Linked DNA regions of Homo sapiens: region 1 is linked to region 2. The links are contacts of gene promoters, found by promoter capture Hi-C in human tissues and cell types (Jung and others, 2019). All regions are on one chromosome and are shown on one strand. The core of a region is centred on a gene start or on the middle of the fragment in contact, and the rest is flanking DNA. Distances in the headings are between cores, read along the strand shown.

Evidence for each region. The method cuts DNA at HindIII sites, captures the fragments that hold promoters and counts their contacts. A contact is called where the count stands out against the background at its distance.
Region 1: a contact is called between a fragment that was not itself captured here and the fragment with the promoter of WWOX in region 2, in 1 of the 25 tissues and cell types used here (dorsolateral prefrontal cortex).

The regions. Positions count from the first base shown.
Region 1 is chr16:79,561,305-79,568,340 of GRCh38, forward strand. It overlaps a transcript of MAF not described here. Among named protein-coding and RNA genes, the nearest start is that of MAF, 36 kb to the right of the region's middle. The HindIII fragment of the contact is 3,788 bases long and covers 968-4,755 here.
Region 2 is chr16:78,098,404-78,105,559 of GRCh38, forward strand. It overlaps WWOX (WW domain containing oxidoreductase), which reads left to right and starts at 1,251. Exons shown (of 9, transcript NM_016373.4): 1 at 1,251-1,482. The coding sequence starts at 1,376. RefSeq lists an enhancer at 1,485-1,984. The HindIII fragment of the contact is 7,138 bases long and covers 1-3,260 here.

The DNA.
Region 1 (7,036 bases), core at 1,612-4,111, 1.5 Mb after region 2:
AGTTTTCTTTCTTTTTTTTTTTTATATATACTTTAAGTTTTAGGGTACATGTGCACAACGTGCAGGTTAGTTACATATGTATACATGTGCCATGTTGGTGTGCTGCACCCATTAACTCGTCATTTACCATTAGGTATATCTCCTAATGCTATCCCTCCCCCCTCCCCTCACCCCAAAACAGTCCCCGGTGTGTGATGTTCCCCTTCCTGTGCCCACGTGTTCTCATTGTTAAATTCCCACCTACGAGTGAGAACATGCAGTGTTTGGTTTTTTGTCCTTGCGATAGTTTGCTGAGAATGAGGGTTTCCAGCTTCATCCATGTCCCTACAAAGGAAACATTTTACACTGGAACCTTCAGGAAAGGGAGCAGGAATCTCCACTGCCCCTACAATGTCTTGAGGAGAAGAAGAAAAAATGGTCTTCAAAGCCAAATAAAAATTAGAAGAATTATCCACACACTTCCGAATGAAACTCAATGGACTGAGAAGAGAGGAGACGGTGTGTTTGGATGTTTGACAGGAATGACCTCCAAAGCTAGGATTAACCAAGAGTAACTATTTGCCTTCATTTATACAGAAAATATTTGTTGAGCACCTGAAGTATTGCAGGGCACTCAGCTGGGTACAAGCGAGCCAAGAGTAGACACAACAGTATCTCTGGTTCAACATGAGCCGTTTGTCCCCAGGCTCACAATCACTTATGTTTGCAAGCTCAAAACCACTGGGCAGCTATTACCTCTTGTTGGTCTTCAGCGTTCTAACACATTCCTTGCTCTACTTGGAAAACATTCCCCCTTTCCATCCCTATTCCCTTAACTTCTCAAGACATAATCCTGCTCATCCCTAAATATTCAACTTAAAACATGTAATATTCAGACCACGTCTAGTCACACCATTCTGTTCCCAGTCTTTACGGTACTTGGCATAATTGTAATGAATTACTTGTGTAAAGCTCATCTACACCAACGAATTGTGAAGCAGTACAAAGACATGGACAAGGTTTGTTTTGTTCCCATTGATAGTCCCAGCATCTCACTGCCTTAAACAATAGTTTCTTCATAGATGATGTGACCCGTGAATGAATAAATGGATGGAAGGATAAGGAAATGGCAAGTGAACTCCCTCACCAGCTCCAGGACCTATAGGAGTCAGAGATATAGTTATTACCCTTGGGAAAAATACATTTTGTAGGCTTAAAGGCCCATTGTCTAACCAGACCACAAAACATTTCTTTACATCATCTACACCCTGGCTGCCAACTAACACCACAGAAGGTCTTTCAGCCTTGTCCCTGAACACAGACCTAAGAACACAAATTTCTCAACATCTGTAGACCTCGGACTCCAGGCTGAAGTGCCAAGATCTCTCTAATCCTCATTCTTAATCCCCCATGCTTTGGAGAAGGCCACCCACTCACCACAAAGCTGTTGTCCAGGGCTCCAACTCAGTATTGTACTCACTCCTAGGAAAACAAGTGGAAGATGAAGAGGAGACATCATCCCACCCAGGAAGTGGGTCTGGTTATGAGACCGTCATACTTGCCTGCCTGGATTCAGGCCCCTCCCCAGGTCCAGAAAACAGAGTAGATCTTTCCCTTCTTTTTCAGATCCAAATCAAATTCAAACAAAACAAAAGCAAAAATCCTTCAGGCCTCAATTTCAAATTCAAATGTGTCTACTGGTCAGCAGGTTCATTTGTGCCTCCTCCTGTCCATTCATCCGTTCAGCAAATATCAAGTCAGTGTTACATCTAGGCTTGCACTAGGTGGTTATACTATGGAAACAGACAGCAGAACTTACGCTCAGGAGGATTTATCGTACGGGCTGAAGGCTGTACCCATAAAGCACTGGACTTTCCAGACACCAAAGCTAAACCTCAATCTGGCAGGTAAAGGTTTTCAACTGGATAACTCAAGTAACTCTGAAAACTCTAGAGCTTAGTGCATCGTCTCATGTGACAGCCGCTGCCCATGTGTGGTTACAGAACACTGGCAATGTGGCCAGTGTGTCTCTAGAACTAAATTATTAATTTTGTTTGACTCTAACTACTTTGTGTTTAAATTTAAAAACTGAAGCAGTGAAAATATTGTTTCTTTCTGTTAAGTACATCTTTATTGTTGTGGTCAAACTCCATTTCACTTTAACCTTATTGAACATTTAGAATCCAAATTGAGATATACATCAAATTTTAAAGACTTGGCACCAAAAAAAAAAAAAGATTTGTGAAATATCTCAGTAATACATTTTTTATAATGAGTATGCATTGATATCATAATACTTTTGATTTATGGCATTTAAAATAATATTAAAAATCATTTTAGCTGTTTCTCTTTACTTTTTTAAATGAGGCTGTTACAAAATTTAAGATTTAAAATGTGGCTTACATTATATTTCTTATTGGACAGCTATAGATGTCTTAATAATTAGCTAGCAAACACACACACACACACACACACACACAAACACACACACGTGTGACCACTGAGATGTTCTCAGGGAGTTTTCATATCTGATTCCTTACACTCACCTAGCAATTCTGGTTGAGAAGTAAAAAGCCTTCTACTCCTTTTTAATTTCACATCCAAAAAGTATCATCCAAACTCCTCAGGACAGGATCACCTGTGATCATTTTTGGATGTTGGGAAAGCCAGCCTCAAACTATTAGCTTAGGTTTGAAGTTTATTCTTAATCTAGTTCATAATTCCACGTATTTCAAAGGAAAAAAGAGAGACCTTTCAGGCAGGTGGGATGCATTTCAAGTGGAGCAGACCCTGCTTTCAACAGATTCCCTCCCCCATGGCCACTGCCGCCCCTTCAGGCCTCCTGGGATTTCTGCTAAGTGGCTTTCACTACATAATTAAATGCAAAGTCCTGGCAGGGCAGCGTTCCTCCTCTTTACCTTAGCAATTTTTTGTTTTGTTTTGTTTCAGGAGAAGACGGAAGGAGTATTTCTTGGTCCTAGGAAGTGTGCCTGCCTTGCTGGAAGACTTCTTTTTTGCATTTGTTACCTAGAAGTTTCTTTCTTCTAGTTGCGGGGGAGAAGGAAAGAAGAATTATGGGGAAGAAAAGTGAGGAATCAGTTTATAGCCGAATAAGGTCAACAGTGTCAACTGGGGACCCAGAGATAGGCAAGGGGGAAGTAGCTATGAACTGGGCACACTGGTTTACTTAGAAATAATACATCTTTGAGCCTGATAACTTCCCTGATGGAAGAAGACTTCCACTGGGCACATCCTGAAGAAGCCGCACTGTTTACAAAGTACTGTCACCCACAGCGCCTTCTTTTGTCCATGTGACAACTCTCGGGGCATGGAGCACCCTGTGGCAGCCCACAGTGGTCCGACCCACCCATCTTCTTTGTTAATGAAAGTCAGGATTTTATTCAGGTCTGCCCAGACAGTGTGGCTGTGGGGAAATCTGGCAGATCCCCAGCCCTGTGGAGCATGTGTGGGGTGAACCTTGACCAGTCCAAACCTGTAATGGTTAATTGCATAACCAAGGCCAACCATTGACAGAGGGATGGACGCCTGACAATTGCAGCCTATTAACTATGTGGGGAAGCGACTTCTGCAAAACATTCCTTGCTCTTACGAAGGAATAAAGGGCTGCACACTCTCTGCCTCTGGTTTTGGGTGGGCTGGTGTAAAAAATGTGGTACCTCGAACCTTACACATGTCTTACATCTGAAGCTTGAGAATGGTGGAGCTGGGAGAGGGCAAGAGTCCGGGCCCTGACATCATTCAGCTGTGGAAATAAACAGCTTTGCAAGGGCACCTACCCTTGGACTTCTTACGGGAGATAACTAGTCCCAGGGTGTTCACACCATTCAGAGCCAAATTTTCTGCTACCAAAGACCCAAAATACCCAGTTACAATCCTCTACGTTGCCTCTGCAAGCTGGGTCTATGGGAGTTGAACCCGGCCCAATTACCTGTTTTTGTGGAAAAAAGAAGCTTTATTGAAACACAACCAGGGGCATTCATTTACATATTGTCGATGGCAGGGTTGAGCAGCTGCAGCAGAGATCATGTGGCCCTTGAAACCTAAATGATTGACTACCTGGCCATTTACAGAAAAGGTCTGCTGACCTGGGACTATGATATCACAACTCTCCCTTACCTCCCTTTCACTCAGTGATATGGTTTCGCTGTGTCCCCACCCAAATCTCACCTTGAACTGTAGGTCCCACAATCTTCACGTGTTGTGGGGGGGGGGACCAGTTGGGAGGTGACTGAATCATGGGGGTGGTTACCTCCATGCTGTTCTTGTGATAGTGAGTTCTCATGAGATCTGATGCTGTTATAAGGGGCTCTTTTCCCTTCGCTCAGCACTTCTCCTTCCCGCCTTCATGTTGCTTCCCCTTCTGCCATAATTGTAAGTTTCCTGACGCCTCTCCAGCCATGCTGAACTCTGAGTCAACTAAACTTCTTTCCTTTATAAATTACCCAGTCCCAGGTATGTGTTTATTAGTATAAGAATGGACTGATAAACTTAGCAGGCTCAGGGATGTTGAAAACCCTATACTGAGAGCACTATTCTGAAATATTCCGAGGTAGGCAGTATTTTCTCCCACTTGATAGATGAGGAAACTGAAGTTCAGAAAGAGACAGTCTCTTGCTTCAAGTCACACAGCTAGAAACTGACAGGACAAGGATTGGACATCAAGTCTGGCAGACTCTAGGCCATGCACAATTCACCCTGCACTGATAGACCCTGGGCCACTCTGATCCTCCTGGCTCTTAGGTCTAGGTTTGTGTATTAAAAACAAACAAACGCAACCAAACAAAACCCAACCAACTCACAGGTAATTCTGATCTGCATCCAGAACAACATCTCTGTAGATCATCAGTTTCTTTTTTTTAAAGAAATGTACATATCCATATATCTGTAAGGACCAATTAATTGCCAACACTCTGCCATTAGAGATACAAAGACAATCCCCATGCATCAATATAGGACACAGTTTCATCTTTGTGGCACTTTTAGACCAATGTGGGACAGATTAATCTTAGGGTCTTACAAAAGGCTGTAAGAGCTGAGGGAATGGTCGGAGGGGCCTGGGCTGGGATTCACAGCAGGGAGTGGGGACTGTACTGCAAGACCCCCAGTCCTCCCTGTTGATGGCCCAGTGGATCCGTGCTGAGCTGACGGAGTGATGGTGCTTCTGGGAAGGAAGGGCCCATGGGAGCATCTTGCCCACCTTTCAGTGCTAACCAAACCAACCATCTCTGGAGGGTTGATCCTGGACATGCATTCCTTTCACTCTGCACCCTCGTGGCCATTTGGCCCTCCTGACCACGCCACAAGTGTGGATCTTGGGGGAAGAAGCCAAGGTTCAAGAGCAAAGTGTAATGTCCCCCATCCCCCAGCCTGAGTTAGTGGATGAACCCTGAACTGGAGTCTACTTGGCCTGAATCCTTCATCTTGGTGAGATGTGCAGGGCCCTAAGGAACCTCCAGTTCCCGACTCCTTCCACACTTCATGGAAATGGGACTCTCACCCGGAGGGAAAAGGCCTTTGGAACCCTGTGGTTTGATTTCCAAATCCTCTTTGGCTGCTGAAGCTTTTGAGGCTCTGATGGATGTAGGGACCCTCTTTCCAGAAAAATGGACTTGGATAGAATCTTGAATACCTCTTAGGGCATTTTATAGAGTCCTGGAAGGTAATCTTTTGGCTGTCTGGGATGAAGTAAATGCATATAAAGAAAGACTACCTACAATTGAGATGCAAACATTAGGTGGGGCATGGTGGCTCACGCCTGTAATGCCAGCACTTTGGGAGGCTAAGGCAGGCAGATCACAAGGTCAGGAGTTCGAGACCAGCCTGGCCAACATGGCGAAACCCTGTCTCTACTAAAAATACAAAAATTAGACAGGCATTGTGGCAGGAGCTTGTAATCCCAGCTACTTGGGAGGCTGAGGCAGGAGAATCGCTTGAACCCAGGAGACAGAGGTTGCAGTGAGCCAAGATCGTGCCATTGCACTGTAGCCTGGGTGACAAGAGCAAGACTCCACCTCAGAAAAAAAAAAATGCAAATATTAGCTAGAGGGGTCACTCATTCAATCTGAGTTTTGATTACTACCTTAGTTTGATTATACACATACACAGATACATCCACATACTGTCAAATCAACTGAGAAACGGATCCATAGAAGCCACAAGGCAAGGGATTTTTTTGTTTTATCTTTTTGCTTTTTCTTTTTTAAAAAAAGTAAGTAAAAAAAATGACCAATGATATTAGCAAACTAGTTTTGTCTGTTTGTATATTTTTCCTGTCCTGATCTGGGTCAAATTTAATGAGAATTAAATAAAGTGAGGGCTTCAGAAGGTGAAGCATGGCCTCTCCCCACTGGGCTTGGCACAAGGCCTTGCTGGGTATCTCCTCCCTGCCTACCATCGCCTCCATGAGCAGCTCAGTGATCTGCATTTCCAATAAGTAAATCCCATCTACAGGGCAACAGGCTTTCCTATGTCTAGGGAGATGTGTGCAAAATACCTTCTAGTCCTCAGAAATGGAATCTTCCACCTGCCAGCTAATGTCTCTTTGAGTTCCCTATTTATTTTTATAAGGCTCTAAAGGTGAATTTTCTCCTGCGTCGCAGAGCTGAAAGTTAAGCTTAATGTACAAATCTTTATTTTCCAAAGAGGCAGGTTGGCCTTCTTGTATCGACAGACTCCAGAGCTTAGATTTATTACAGAATGATAATCAGGCAAAAGAATAAATAAGCTGCATCTTTAATTCATTAATCACCTCGGAAAGCAAAATGAACTACAGTAAAGAGGACAATATGTTTTCAAATGTTGGGGGTGGGGGAAGAGGGAGTCTGTTTCTCAATAAAATCCAGTCGCTAAAATCCATTTTGCATGCAGATTAGAGAAAGGGCATTTTACCTCTGCGGCTGTAGTTCAGATAGGAGCTGGAAGCTCTGCAAAGGAAGTCTGGCAGGGATGGGTGTCTGTGGATGGCCCCTAATGGTCCCTGGTGTCTTCCACTGGGTTCCTGTTGTAACTCACAAGATGACCCACAGGCTTATTAAGA
Region 2 (7,156 bases), core at 1-2,500:
TTTTATTTTCCTTCCTTCCTTCCTTCCTTCCTTCCTTCCTTCCTTCCTTCCTTCCTTCCTTCCTTCCTCCCTCCCTCCCTCCCTCCCTCCCTTTCTTTCCAGATTCTGGACCTATTCCAGACTTACTAAAGGAAATTCTCTAAAGGTGAGGCAGTTTTTTAAAGACAGCAGCTCTCTCTGTCGTCCATGCTGGAGTGCAGTGGCCCGATCATAGCTCACTGCAGCCTCGACTTCTTGGGCTCAAGTGATCCTCCCCCTTCAGCCTCAATGAGTAGCTGGGACTACCGATGTGCACTACCACGCCCGGCAAACTAAAAAAATAATTATTTTTGGTAAAGACAGGGGTCTTGCGATGTTGCCCAGGCTGTTCTCAAACTCCTGGCCTCAAGTGATCCTCCTGCCTCAGCCTCCTAATGTGTTTGGATTACAGGCATGAGCCACTGAGCCCGGCCTAGCTACCCTGTCTGAGTTGTGCCCACTACACAAAGGTGTCAGCTACATGTGATGTCTGTGCATTTCTGGCCTGGACCGCACATTAAGTGCTCCGTAAACATCAGTCTCTATTATCAACAGTCTCTATTATCAATCAGTCTCTATTATCATCAGTCTCTATTATCATGAGTCTCTATTAAACAACAGTCTCTATTATCACAGTCTCTATTATGTGTTTTGGCTGAAAGAAAGTTCTCTAAAACCAGGAAATCAGGAATCAGCAGTTTTAAGTTCTCCAGGTTATATTTTAACATTGTGTTCATATGCAAAACAAAGGTTGTGAATCAGCACGAATGCTGGCAAGCCCTGGAAGGTTTGTGATCACGGACTTTCACGAGACCCCAAGGCAAGGAGAGACAGAAGCCCAGGACAACAGCATGGGCGCCGCTTTTTAGTCGGGCGCCGCTTTTTGGTCAGGCGCCACCTGGACTACATTTCCCATATCCAATTGCCGGGCTCCTGCAGGATTGGCCAGAACAACGCGGAAGTGATTACGGGTCGCCCAGCAACGGGCGGAGTCCTGGCCCGAAACTGGATGCGCACGCCCCTTCCCTGCGGCGGGGAGGCTGACAAGGCTCCGCTCTATCTCTAGCGCCTCGGAGCGCTCTCCGGCTTTGCTGTCTAGCCCGGCGGCAGCGCGATCTCTTAGGCACTTTCACCGCCTTCCTCTCCAGGCCCTGCCCCTTTGACGCCGGCCGTCGCGATATTGCGGAGACTGGATTTCAGCTTCGTGGTCGGCGGAGCGGCCCCTGGAGGGCGCAGTGCGCAGGCGTGAGCGGTCGGGCCCCGACGCGCGCGGGTCTCGTTTGGAGCGGGAGTGAGTTCCTGAGCGAGTGGACCCGGCAGCGGGCGATAGGGGGGCCAGGTGCCTCCACAGTCAGCCATGGCAGCGCTGCGCTACGCGGGGCTGGACGACACGGACAGTGAGGACGAGCTGCCTCCGGGCTGGGAGGAGAGAACCACCAAGGACGGCTGGGTTTACTACGCCAAGTAAGGGGGCCGCAGTGGGGCCGCGGACGCACCTGGGACCCTGCACAGCCCACGGACGCCACCTGCGCGGGGAGGACGCGCACTCCAGCGCAGCGCGTGCGGTGCAAAGTGAAAGTAACTGTTAAGGAGCTTCAGGGAAAAGGGTCCAGGGTTCCCAGTAGGGGCCGGCCCCCTTGGTGGGCCTCGGGTCCAGCGGGGGTCACCTGGTGGCTTCCCGGCGCGCCCTCTGCTGTTCAGGATGCAGCACTGCGCGGCGCGGCGAGGGCAAAGCGGCCTCATCCCCGCCAAAAAATAAAGATGTTTTAAAAAGCGCACATGCTCAGCTCCCTCCTGCAGGCTCTGGGTTGCAGGGATAGGAGTTTTGTTGTGTTTTGTTTTGTTTTGTCCAGACCGGTATTGCTCAGTCATCCAGGCTGGAGTGCAGGGGTGCCATCATAGCCCACTGTAGCCTCTACCTACTGGGTTCAGACAATCCTCTCATCTCAGCCTCTTGAGTGGCTGGGACTACAAGCGTGCACTACTATGCCCGACTAATTTTTTAAGTATTTGTAGAGACTAGGGTCGCACCATGTTGCCCAGGCTGGTCTCGAACTACTGGGCTCAAGCAGGCCACCTGCCTCAGCCTCCAGAATTGAGATTACAGGCGTGAGCCACTGCGCCTAGCCAGGAGTATTTTTTAGTAGCAGTCCTAGATAGCTTCACTATCATTTCCTGGGAAAGTTTTGGAAACCCCAGCAGAGCCTTCATCTTTAACTGTGTGACCTTGGGCCATTGAAATAACGTTTAATCTTGGTTTTTTCACCTGTAAAATGGGTTGATACGAGGGTCAGTTCAGGCACTGTGCGTAAAGCACATAGCACCGTGTCTAGTAGGTACTCTCTGTTCCTTAACTGTCGTTCCTTGATTGCTCTTAAGATACGACAGTGCCTCTTATATCGGCACCTTAGAATCACCTAGGAAATGTCCTAAATACACGTTTTGGGTCTCCATAGAGAACCTACTGTAGCCGACTCTCAACTTTGGGAGTCTCTTTTTTTAAGCTTTCCAGGTGAGGTGGAATATCACCTGGTTTTGAGAAACATGGATGTAAATCTGATTTTCAGCATCTGGGAAACTTTTTTTGTAAGAGCCTTTTTCTGGGCCCCACTTCCAGAGGGTTTTTCTTTTTTTTTTTTCTTTTGAGACGGAGTCTTGCTCTGTCGCCCAGGCTGGAGTGCAGCGGCGCGATCTCGGCTCACTGCAGCCTCCGCCTCCCGGGTTCACGCCATTCTCCTGCCTCAGCCTCCCGAGTAGCTGGGACTACAGGCGCCCGCCACCACGCCCGGCTAAGTTTTTGTGTTTTTAGTAGAGACGGGGTTTCACCGTGTTAGCCAGGATGGTCTCGATCTCCTGACCTCGTGATCCTCCCGCCTCGGCCTCTCAAAGTGCTGGGATTACAGGCGTGAGCTACCGCTCCCGGCCTTTTTTTTTTTTTTTTTAAAGACAGGGTCTCGCTCCGTCGCCCAAACTGGAGTGCCGTGGTGCGATCTCGGTTCACTGCAACCTCTGCATGCCGAGTTCAAGCGATTCTCGTGTCTCAGCCTCCCGAATAGCTGGGATTACAGGCGCCCGCCACCAGGCCTGGCTAATTTCGCGCTGTTGGCCCGGCTGGTCTCCAACTCCTGGCCTCAAGTGATCCGCCCACCTCGGCCCCCCAAAGTGTTGGCATTACAGACAGGAGCCACTGCGTCAGCCCAGAATTTCTGATTTAATTGGTTTGGCCCCTCCCCTCTCCCTTGGTAGGTTGTAAAATCTTCCCTCCCAGGTGATTCTAATCTATGCAAGGATGTGAACCACTGCTGCCTTTGGTGGCAAGGTAGAGGAAAAACAACCAAGTTCTGATGAGTTCATTCAAGACACACACAGGTATTATGTGACAGGCCTTTGGCTGGCACTGGTTATACCGAGGCAAATAAGAGCCAGTTGTCATCCTTAGGACCCAATCTTATTAGGGCACAGTGACATGTGTAGGAGCGTCCCCACGCAGTGTGTATACCAGGAAGTAGTGTGTCTGGCATGAGGTGTGTGTAGGTAGTTGGGGGGGTCGTGAGGGAATATGGTGGCACCCTCACAGTAACCTTCACTTCCTGGGCTCAAGCGATCCTCCCGCATCAGCCTGTTGAGTACCCGGGACCACAGGTGTGTGCCTCCACACCCAGCTAATTATTACATGTTTTGTAGAAATGGGGTCTCACCATGTTGCCCAGGCTGGTTTGAACTCCTGAACTCAAGCCAGCCTCCCTCCCGAAGCACTGGAATCACAGGCCTGAGGCACTGTGCCAAGCCCAGAGCGGTGTTTTGAGCTCAAGTAGAGGTGGGTGGGGCAGGAGGGCAGTCTAGGTAGAGGGAACAGTGAGAGGAGAGACCCCCTGCATGGCCTGTCCAGGGGCCTGTGATCTTTGTGAGGGTCCAGGAATGTGAAGGTTAAGGCAGGGAAGGGAGGACCCATTTCAAGGATTTCTGTGCCTTGCCGAGAAGCTTGGGCTCTGTTGGCAGAGCCAGAGAGTGGCATTCATTCAGCTTGTGAATTCTGGAAGAATTTCTGGCTCTGGAGAATTAAAGGGACATTTCCAGCAGCAGAGCTCCAGTAGCCTTTGCAGGGACGGAGGCAAGCTCCTGAGCGGGCACTTGCTGTTCCTCTCACCTGTACATCTGTTGGGGAAAGGCTCCTTCTCATCCTTCAGAGCTGAGCTTACATGTCACTGCCCAAGAGACCTTCTTAACTGTGGGTGTCCCCTCGACCTTGTACTAGTCACCTTGTTTCTCTGCTTCTTCGTGCTTAGCCTTGGCTGTGTACTCCTCCTTGTTGGCCCTGTCTCCCTTGCCCAGGTTGCAGATGTCATGGGGCAGCTTGTTCATCTGAGTGTCCCCAGTGCTTGGCACCCAGAAGCCATAAGATGAGCCCCTGTGGGATGAGTAAATGAATCACCTTGGGAGGGTCAGCCGCAGGCTTCTGTGGGTGGGTGGGTGGTGCACTGGGCCCCAGAGTACAAAGATGCACATGACCCGCTTCCGGCTTCCTAAGCCCACCTCTGCCTCTGGCTCTGTGGGGCGTCTCCTCCTTTGCCACTCAGCCCCAGAGGTGCTTCTGCTTCCCTGCAGGCTTGCCCTGGAGCCTGGCGCTAGGGCCCTGGGGCTCCCTTGCTCCTGCGTGCCCCCTGCGCCTGCCTTCCTGCTGCCTGGCCTTTCTCCCATCTGCTTTCTTCCTGAGTGGCCCCTGGCCAGGGGACTCGGGTGCATACATGGTTTCCAAACGCCTTTCCTCCAGCCCTCCCGACTAGTGTCTTAAATCTCAAGCTGGCCTCTCTGGCTCCGCTGTTTTTTTTTTTTTTTTTTTTTTAATTTAATTTAACTTTAAATTCCGGGATACATGTGCAGGATGTGCAGGTTTGTTACATAAGTAAACCTGTGCCATGGTGACTTGCTGCACTTGTCAACCCATCACCTAGTTGTTCAGCCCCCCGTGCATTAGCTATTTATTGTATACACCAGCTGAGATGCCAGGGCTTGGCTGGCTCTCAGCTGGAGGGCTCACTCTCTGGACCTTGTGTCCGTCCCTGCTGGCCCTCAGTTCTCTGGATCAGGGTTGAAAGGCTGAAATTCTTTGGGTGTTAGCTTAGGATGCCTCTGATCCATCCTAACCCGACATTCCCTTGATCTCTCCTGATCTGTGAGCATCCTGGCCCTTCTTTTCTTTTCAGTTTTAATTTTTGCGCTGGCTCCAACCCCTTTTCATTCCTGACTCTGGAAGTGACACTTGTTTTTCTCTTGGGGTTTGGGAAACTTTGTGGTTGTTCTTTCTAGGAGGCTGCTCTTTGAGTCATTTCTTTTCCATATTGTTTCTCCTACTGTAGCAGGGCCATGGCCAGGGATAGAGGCTGTAGCTCCCACTGAGACCTCGGGGTCTGGTGGAACCCGGTCTTGTGTGGGTGCTGTCGGCCTCTCCTGCTTTCCCACCTGCCTCACGGTTCACTTGTGTGCCTCAAAGGCACACATGTCCTAGCACTCCAAAGCCCACCAGGGTGGGCTCCCAGGGGTGAGGTCGAGGTAGACCGGGAACCCAAGAGAGCTGGTGGGCCTTTCTTCTACCCCTCTCCCCTCACAGTCTCAGAGCAGCCCCTTCATGGGAGATGGGAAGTGAGGGACAAGGTCTCAGTGTCAGAGCCGTCCTTGTTTGCCCTTCCCCGTGCCTCTTATGAAGCTCAGGCCTTTTGGCAGTCAGAGGCCTCAATGGTGCCTGTGTCCACAGGGCTGGCTGTCCTCACCGTGAAGTCTAGATCTCCCTGCTAACTTACACTGTGCTCAAAACACACACACACACACACACACACACACACACACACACACTGGCTGTCCTCACTGTCAACTCTAGATCTCCCTGCTAACTTACACTGTGCTCAAAAAACACACGCACGCACGCACGCATGCACGCACATACACACACACACACACACCCATAGGCTGGCCATGGTGGGAGGCCAAGGTGGGAGGATCGCCTGAGCCCAGGAGCTCGAGGCTGCAGTGGGCTATGATTGCATCACTGTACTCTAGCCTGGGCCACAGAATGAGACCTTGTCTAAAAAAAAATTAACAGAAAACACCCCATACGTGGAAGTGTGGTATTCACATAATATGATGTTCACTTAAATTTGAATCCTTTGGTTTAAGTTTAGATTACTCTTAATTATCTTTTTAAATGACAAGCTCGTTGAAAGAATAAAAAATCAAAGACGGCTTCTATTTAAAGGAGAATAGGAGAATGCTTAGGGGACATGTGTTCTAATTTTCTCTTCATTAAAAAGTCATTTAAGGTTATAATTAAAAAGAACATCTTTTAATTAATTTTTATATTTATTAAAAAAAAGTCTTCTATTGAAAGGTACAGTTCTTAGTTCTTCCCGTGTTAACTCACTCGGTTCTCTATAACCCCAAGAAGTAAGTGCTGTTATTGTCCCCATCTAAACTGTTGAGGAAACTGAGGCATGGGATTAAATGACTTCTTCAAGGGCAGAGTGGCTGGCAAATGGGAGACCCAGAAAACCTTGGCAGTTGGGCTTCAGAATCTTCACGACCAAATTACTCTCTCTGCTTCAGCTGGTTCCGGATTCTTCCCCAGGGATGGTTGTGTCCTGCAGGGGACGGCTGGCAATGTCTGGAGATGCTTTCTGTTGCCACAGCTATGGGACTGGGGTATTGGCATCTGATGGGCAGAGGCCAGTGGTGCCCAAGGCAGCCCCGCAACAAAGAATGATGCAGGCCGGGTGCAGTGGTTCACGCCTGTAATCCCAGCACTTTGGGAGGCCGAGGCAGGTGGATCAGTTGAGGTCAGGAGTTCGAGACCTGCCTGGCCAACATGGTGAAACCCCATCTCTACTAAAAATACAAAAATTATCCCGGCATGGTGGCAGGTGCCTGTAATCCTAGCTACTCAGGCTGAGGCGGGAGAATTGCTTGAACCTGGGAGGCAGAGGTTGCAGTGAGCTGAGATTGCACCACTGTACTGCAGCCTGGGTGACAGAGTGAGACTCTGTCTCAAAAAAAAAAAAAAGAATGATCCAGCCCCAAGTGCCACCAGCAGTGAGAATAAGAAACCCTGATTCAGGCATGTTCTGTGAAAGTCAAGAACGTAGGTTGA